2 separate regions of the Homo sapiens genome follow, and region 1 is linked to region 2. Evidence: promoter capture Hi-C in 16 types of primary human blood cells and fetal thymus (Javierre and others, 2016). All regions are on one chromosome and are shown on one strand. Each heading gives the region's core, a stretch centred on a gene start or on the middle of the fragment in contact. The rest is flanking DNA. Distances are from core to core; before and after follow the strand shown.

Region 1 (3,409 bases), core at 554-3,053, 510 kb before region 2:
AGCGCGGTGGCTCACGCCCGTAACCCCAACACTTTGGGAGGCTGAGGTGGGTGGATCACTTGAGGTCAGGAGTTTGAGACCAGCCTGGTCAACATGGTAAAACTCTGTCTCTACTAAAAATACAAAAATTAGCTGGGTGTGAAGGCATGTGCCTGTAATCCCAGCTACTTGGGAGGCTGAGGCAGGAGAATGGCTTGAACCCGGGAGGCAGAGGTTGCAGTGAGCCGAGATCGTGCCATTTGCACTCCAGCCTGGGAGACAGAGGAAGACTCCATCTAAAAAAAAAAAAAAAAAAAAAAAAAAAAAAGGAACAACCAGATTTGAAAAAGAATCAAATAAAATGTACAGAAGTGAAAAATGTAGCATTTGAAATTTGAAATGAGCAGAGCGAGCAGCAGATTACACACAGCCAAAGAGAGGTTTAATAAGCTAGTAGAACCAAAGGAATTATCCAGAAAAATTAAGTGGCAGGGCCTAATGTACGTGTATTTAGAGTTCTAGAAGGAGCTAACAGAATAGGAGAACGGGCAATACACGAAGAGGTAATGGCTGATACTTTTGTGAAATTATACATAACAAATCTCAGATCCAGGAAGCCCAGTGAATCCCAAGCAAGATAAATAAAAAGAAATTCACATTTACATACATCCCAAGAAAACTATGGAACATCAGAGAAAAAGAGATGTTGAAAGCATCTGGCTAGGCGCCGTGGCTCACACCTGTAATCCCAGCACTTTGGGAGGCCGAGGTGGGCAGATCACCTGAGGTCAGGAGTCCAAGGCCATCCTGGCCAACATGGTGAAACACTGTCTCTACTAAAAATACAAAAATTAGCCTGGCATGGCGGTGGGCACTTATAATCCCAGCTACTGGGAAGACTGAGGCAGGAGAATCACTTGAACTCATGTGGCGGAGGTTGCAGTGAGCCGAGATCACCCCATTGCACTCCAGCCTGGGCAACAAGAGTGAAACTACGCCTCAAAAACAAACAAACAAACAAAAGCCCCCCAAAACAAAACAAGACAAGCAAACAAACAAAAAAACTCTAAAGGATCATTTACAGCTGATGTATCACTATCCTCAATGGAAACCAGGAGACAGTGGAATTATATCTTTCATGTGCTGGAAAAAAAACAACGGTCAACTTAGAACTCTTTACTATCCTACTGAACTGAGGGTGAAATGAAGACATATTCAGACAAAAAGAAATGGTGAGATTTTACCTCCAAAAGATCTTCACTAAGGACACATTTAAATGTAATGTAGTTCAGACAGAATCAAAATTATTCCAGAGAAAAGGCAAGGCATACAAGAAGGAACAATGGGCACATATGTTGGAAACATTTGATGGAAAACTAAACAACAACGGAGTATAGGACTCCACGATAATAATGCCTAACTTATGGTAGGAAAAATGGGCTAGTATTAAAATACTGGACAATACCATATAATATGGGACGGATGCTCAAAATTCAAGTTGTGAATGTCTTTCCATTATTTGGGGAGAAGGCAAATATATTAAGTTTAGACTTTGTTAAGTGCTCAGTGTTAAGATAGCTAGAGTAAGCACTAAAAACTAGTCATAGAGCTGATAACTTCTAAATAATTAGAAAGAAAAAATAGGATAAGAAAAAGAAGATAAAAATCTCAAATGATACAAAGGAAGATTAGAAAGGGGGCTGAGGGTAGGAAATATAGAATGAATAGAAAATACATTATGAGACCATGGAAATTAATCTACATTTATGTTGTCAGTAATTCATATTAAAGGACTAAACACTTTAGTTGAAAGATGACTGTCTGAATGAATTTTAAAAACAGAGATTATGTTCTGTTTACAAGAGAGCATAATCCCATACCTCAAACATAGGAACCAAGAACTGTTGAAAGTCCAAGTATAGAAAAAATATGTGGCCGGGCACAGTGGCTCACGTCTGTAATCCCAGCACTTTGGGAGATTGAGGCAGGTGGATCACCTGAGGTTGGGAGTTCGAGACCAGCCTAAAAAACATGGAGAAACCCCGTCTTTACTAAAGAGACAAAAAATTAGCCAGGTGTGGTGGTGCACACCTGTAATCCCAGCTACTCGGGAGGCTTAGGCAAGAGAATCGCTTGAACCCAGGGGGTGGAGGTTGCAGTGAGCTGAGATCGTGCCATTGCACTCCATTATCTAGTGATCCAGAGTCACTAGATAATGGTGGAAGGCTCAATTCACCAGGAAGCTGTACCAGTTCTCAATTTATATATAATATCATCATAGCTGCAAAAAATATAAAGCAAAAATGGAAGGGACAAGAATAGATATCTCCACCTTTAGGATGGGATATTTTTAGGCCATTTTGGTGAAGAAATCAAAGATTTGAGGAACACAATGACAAGTTTCATATAATCAACATGTAGCATATGAAACCCCGAAATGGGGGAGAACACATTCTTTTCAAGCATGCATGGGACATTTGGAAAGTATCATAGACTATAAAGCTAACCTCAATGCACGTCCAAGATCAGGCTGGTAGGTCGGATCTCCTGGGAGTCAGGCTCTGAGATGGGGATTGGGGTGCAGGAATTTTATTTGGGAACATTCCTTGGATCAGCACTTGTGGAATGCATGGGATGAGACAGGTCTGCACAGATGGAGAGGTGGAGCAGCAATGCAATACCCACGGAAGCCTCTGCCAGCTCCGCAGAGAGTGCTGGAGCTGGGTAGTCCTTCAGAAGGGTGTGAGTTGGTAAGGAACCAGGCCTTTACATTCTCACCCTGAGCAGCCATTGCATGCAGGCTGCTCATTGAAGGAGGCATGGTCTTGACTGGGCAAGTCAATTTCCTCAGCCCACATAACTTCCTAAGAGAGCAGACAGCTGGGGGCCATCCTCCAGCAGCTCTCGCAGCAGCTGGGGGACTAAGTCCTTCGTTCCGGAAGAGGAAGCTGTGCTGTAGTCATAGCTTCCACCACAATGTGTACACAGACTATATTCTCTGATCACAATCTAAACAAGTTAGATGTTAATAACCAAAAAGACAACAAGCAAATGCCTGTACTTTAGGAAAAACAGTACATCCAAACAACTCGCGGTCCAAAAACGAAATCACAACTAAAATTAGAAAATACTTAGAATTGAGCATTCACAAAAATGTTTTGCATCACGACTTGTGAGATCCAACCAAAGCAGTATTTAGAGGAGTGTTTATAATCTTAAATGCTTGTATTGGCAAATAAGAAATGCTTCATGGCCCAGGTGTGGTGGCTCACGTCTGTAATCTCAGAACTTTGAGAGGCCGAGGTGGGTGGATTGCTTGAGCCCAGGAGTTCGAGACCAGCCTGGGCAACCTGGCAAAACCATGTCTCTACAAAAAATACAAGAATTAGCTGGGCATGGTGGTGCACACCTGTAGTCCCAGTTACTTTGG
Region 2 (3,068 bases), core at 187-2,686:
AGATGAGTTCATTATCGATACCGCCTGCCCCCCAGAACCACTGAGCATAGAAGCCCCAGGAAGGCAAGGGTTTCTGTCTGTTTTGCTCCCTGTTACAGTCACAGTGCCTAGAATAGTGACTGGCACATAATAGGTGTTCAATAAATGTCAACCCACCGCCAAAAAGCGGCGGGAGGATGGAGTGGGGTGGAGGCTGGGGCTAGCCAGCTGCCCTCTGGAAAGAGCAGTCCCTGTGGGGGCCCTGACTCAGCAGCCTGACTCTGCCGGGCCCCAGCCAGACCCTTCTGTGTGCAGCAACCTGGAAAGTCTCCAGACCCACCCTGCCGACCCTCTCTGGGCCTCAGTTTCCTCACCTACAAACAGGTCCACCCGCCCTCCCTCCTTCCGCCCCTGCAGAAACGTCTGACGGGGAAGTACCTGGATGTCACTCTGGACTAGATGGAGCCCGCCCACCAGCCAAGCCCTGGGCACCCCCCGCCCCACACCTGGATGAGCTCATCGCAGGTGGCGAAGTCAGTGACCAAGAAGTTGCGTCCGTCAGGCCAGCGGGTCAGCGAAATGCCCAGCCGCTGGGAGGCCAGGACGTGGGCGTCGGGGGGCAGAGCATCCTGCAGCTGCTGCTTGACGTGCTCGATGGGCGCGTAGGCCGGGTGCAGGATGCTTAGGCTCAGCCGCTCCAACTGCCCAACCATGCCCAGGAGGTGGGAGCAGCAGAAGTCTGCAGTGGGGGCAGGGAAAGGGAGACCTCAGCGCCCAGGGATCCTGCCAGTCCCTCCACACCCCCACTGCCCTCCTAGGTGCAGTGGGAGCGGGGTCCTCCCCACTCCAGCTCAGAATTTCTGGGCTCGGCCCCGGATTCAAATGATCCGTTCACCTTTTCACTTTTTGCCCCGCCGACCTGGGAAACAGAGTTTCTGGCTCTGAGCCACGATCCCTCCTCTGCAAATGGGGGTCACCTAGTCCCCAGCACTCGGTGTTCTCATGGGATTAAATGAGGCTGTGCCGGGGGTAGAGGGCGCAGAGCACAGCGCCAGGCACCAGCGTCTCTGGGCTCGATCCGCTTTCATTAAGCTGTCCCCGCCCCTTTTCGCCCCCGCGGTCCGGGACTCACCGACCGACTTGCCGCAGACGATGCTGACTGCGTTGAGCGCCCCAGACGAGGAACCGTAGATGCGGCGGGCGCCCTGGAGGAGGCGCGGGGCTCGCTGGCGCAGGCATTCGGTGGCGCCCACGTGGTGGGCGCCCAGGTAGCCGGCGCCGGAGAAGGACAGGTTCCATCTGCCCTCCTCCTCTAAGAAGCCCATGGCGGGTGGACCGGGCGGGGTGATCGGGACGAGGAAGGGTCACTCCGTGACCCGGGATAGGGCCGGGATGCAGCCTTGGACGGGGCTGGGCCCAAATGTGGGCTCTGGAGGGAGCCGGGCTGGGGCTGGTGCTGGTGCTCCCTGCGCCGCCCCCGGGCTGCGTCACCTGCGCCCCAGCCAATGAAGTCCCCGGGTCGCGATCAGCCCCCACTCCAGTTGTGCGCCAGGTGTGCCCCAGAAGTGCCCGCGCGCTGTGTATACGCTGGCGCCGCCCCCACGCGCCCGCCCCGGATCCGCATCGGGTCATAGATTTCTGGGTGACACGGCAGGGGAGTGGGACCAAATCTTGCCTGATCTCTGGTAGTCTGGGCAGATGTTATTCCAGTCCTCATTACGCAAATGAGGCAACTGAGGCGCAGCCCAGGATGGTGACAGCCAGGAAGTGGCAGAGTCGGACCCAGGACACCTGGTCTTTGGGGTCAAACCAGGCTTAAGTCCGCAGCTGTGCTGGTTCCAGGGAGGGACTTGAGGGAAAGAGAGGTCTCGGGGCCAGCCTCCGCTCCAGCCAGCACCACTGCACCTTCCCCTGGCTCACCCGCTCTCCAAGCCTCACCTACCACTACAGCCTGCTCAAACATCCCACCTCCTCCCTCCTCCCCTAATCAATCCATTGGAAAGTGCTTTATAAACTGCAAAGCTCCAAGAACTTGGGTTTGTAGTGATTAGGGCTGTCTGGGCTCCAATTCTGGCTCCAGAATGTCTTGGCTGGTGACCCTGGATAATTTAACTGATCTGTGCCTCAGTTTTCTCATCCATCAAGTGGGGATAATAACATTACTTACTCCATAGGACCGGTAAGGATTAGAGTTAATGCAAGTAACGTGTTTGGAATAGCGCCCGGCACTGGATAAGCACACAAACAATGGTTACTACGGTGATTGTTTTAATCAAGTGGCGCACAATCAATGGCAACCGCTATGTTATTTATTTATTTATTTAATTTTGAGGCAGAGTCTCACTCTGTCACCCAGGCTGGGGTGCAGTGGCACAATCTCGGCTTACTGCAACCACCACCTCCCAGGTTCAAGCAATTATCCTGCCTCAGCCTCCCAAGTAGCTGGGACTACAGGCACGCACCACCACGCCCAGCTAATTTTTGTTATTTTCGGTAGAGACAGGGTTTCACCATGCTGCTCAGGCTGGTCTCGAACTCCTGGCCTCAGATGATCTGCCCACCTCAGCCTCCCAAAGTGCTGGGATTACAGGCAGGAGCCACTGCGCCCATCCCTGTGTTACTGCTTTAATCACATGGCACATATCAGTGCCTTCTCATGTGAGCTCCTTGAGGGCCAGGTCCTCCATCTGTGCCTGGAAGAAGTGTGGCACAGTGTTTGTGGACTGAATGCTCAGCCCATGGCCTGGGTGGGTCATTTTCGGAGGAAGAGGTGGGAGGATCTGCTTCTCTTAGCCTCACACCTACCTCTTCCTTGACCTGGGAGTGAAGGGCAGCTTGCCCATGGGCACTGGGTGCAGAAGGCACCCTGGGACAGGCCAGCCCAGCCTCCCCTCCCACAGAGGTGGGCGGTACCGGGCTTTGCTGATCCCACACCAGGGGCGGCATCCTTGCCTCAAAGACCATGGGCCTGCACAGACTCACCCACCTGGTGGCAGGTACCCCAGGCTATCTCCATTGCGGGAAGGACCCAGCCCCAGCTGCAGGGGGTAATTAGAAGCCATGTGCTGACTCTGCTCCAGGAGGGAACC

What was found. The method cuts DNA at HindIII sites, captures the fragments that hold promoters and counts their contacts. A CHiCAGO score of 5 or more calls a contact.
Region 1: a fragment that was not itself captured here is called in contact with the fragment with the promoter of PNPLA5 in region 2 in 2 of 17 cell types (M2 macrophages and megakaryocytes); the score reaches 5.7 in M2 macrophages.

What each region holds. Positions count from the first base shown.
Region 1 is chr22:43,378,991-43,382,399 of GRCh38, forward strand. All of the region lies in intron 3 of LOC105373053 (a long non-coding RNA gene), which reads right to left. Among named protein-coding and RNA genes, the nearest start is that of LINC01639, 20 kb to the right of the region's middle. The HindIII fragment of the contact is 5,976 bases long and covers 1-3,409 here.
Region 2 is chr22:43,890,577-43,893,644 of GRCh38, forward strand. It overlaps PNPLA5 (patatin like domain 5, triacylglycerol lipase), which reads right to left and starts at 1,437. Exons shown (of 9, transcript NM_138814.4): 1 at 1,112-1,437; 2 at 486-718. The coding sequence starts at 1,304. The HindIII fragment of the contact is 5,727 bases long and covers 1-3,068 here.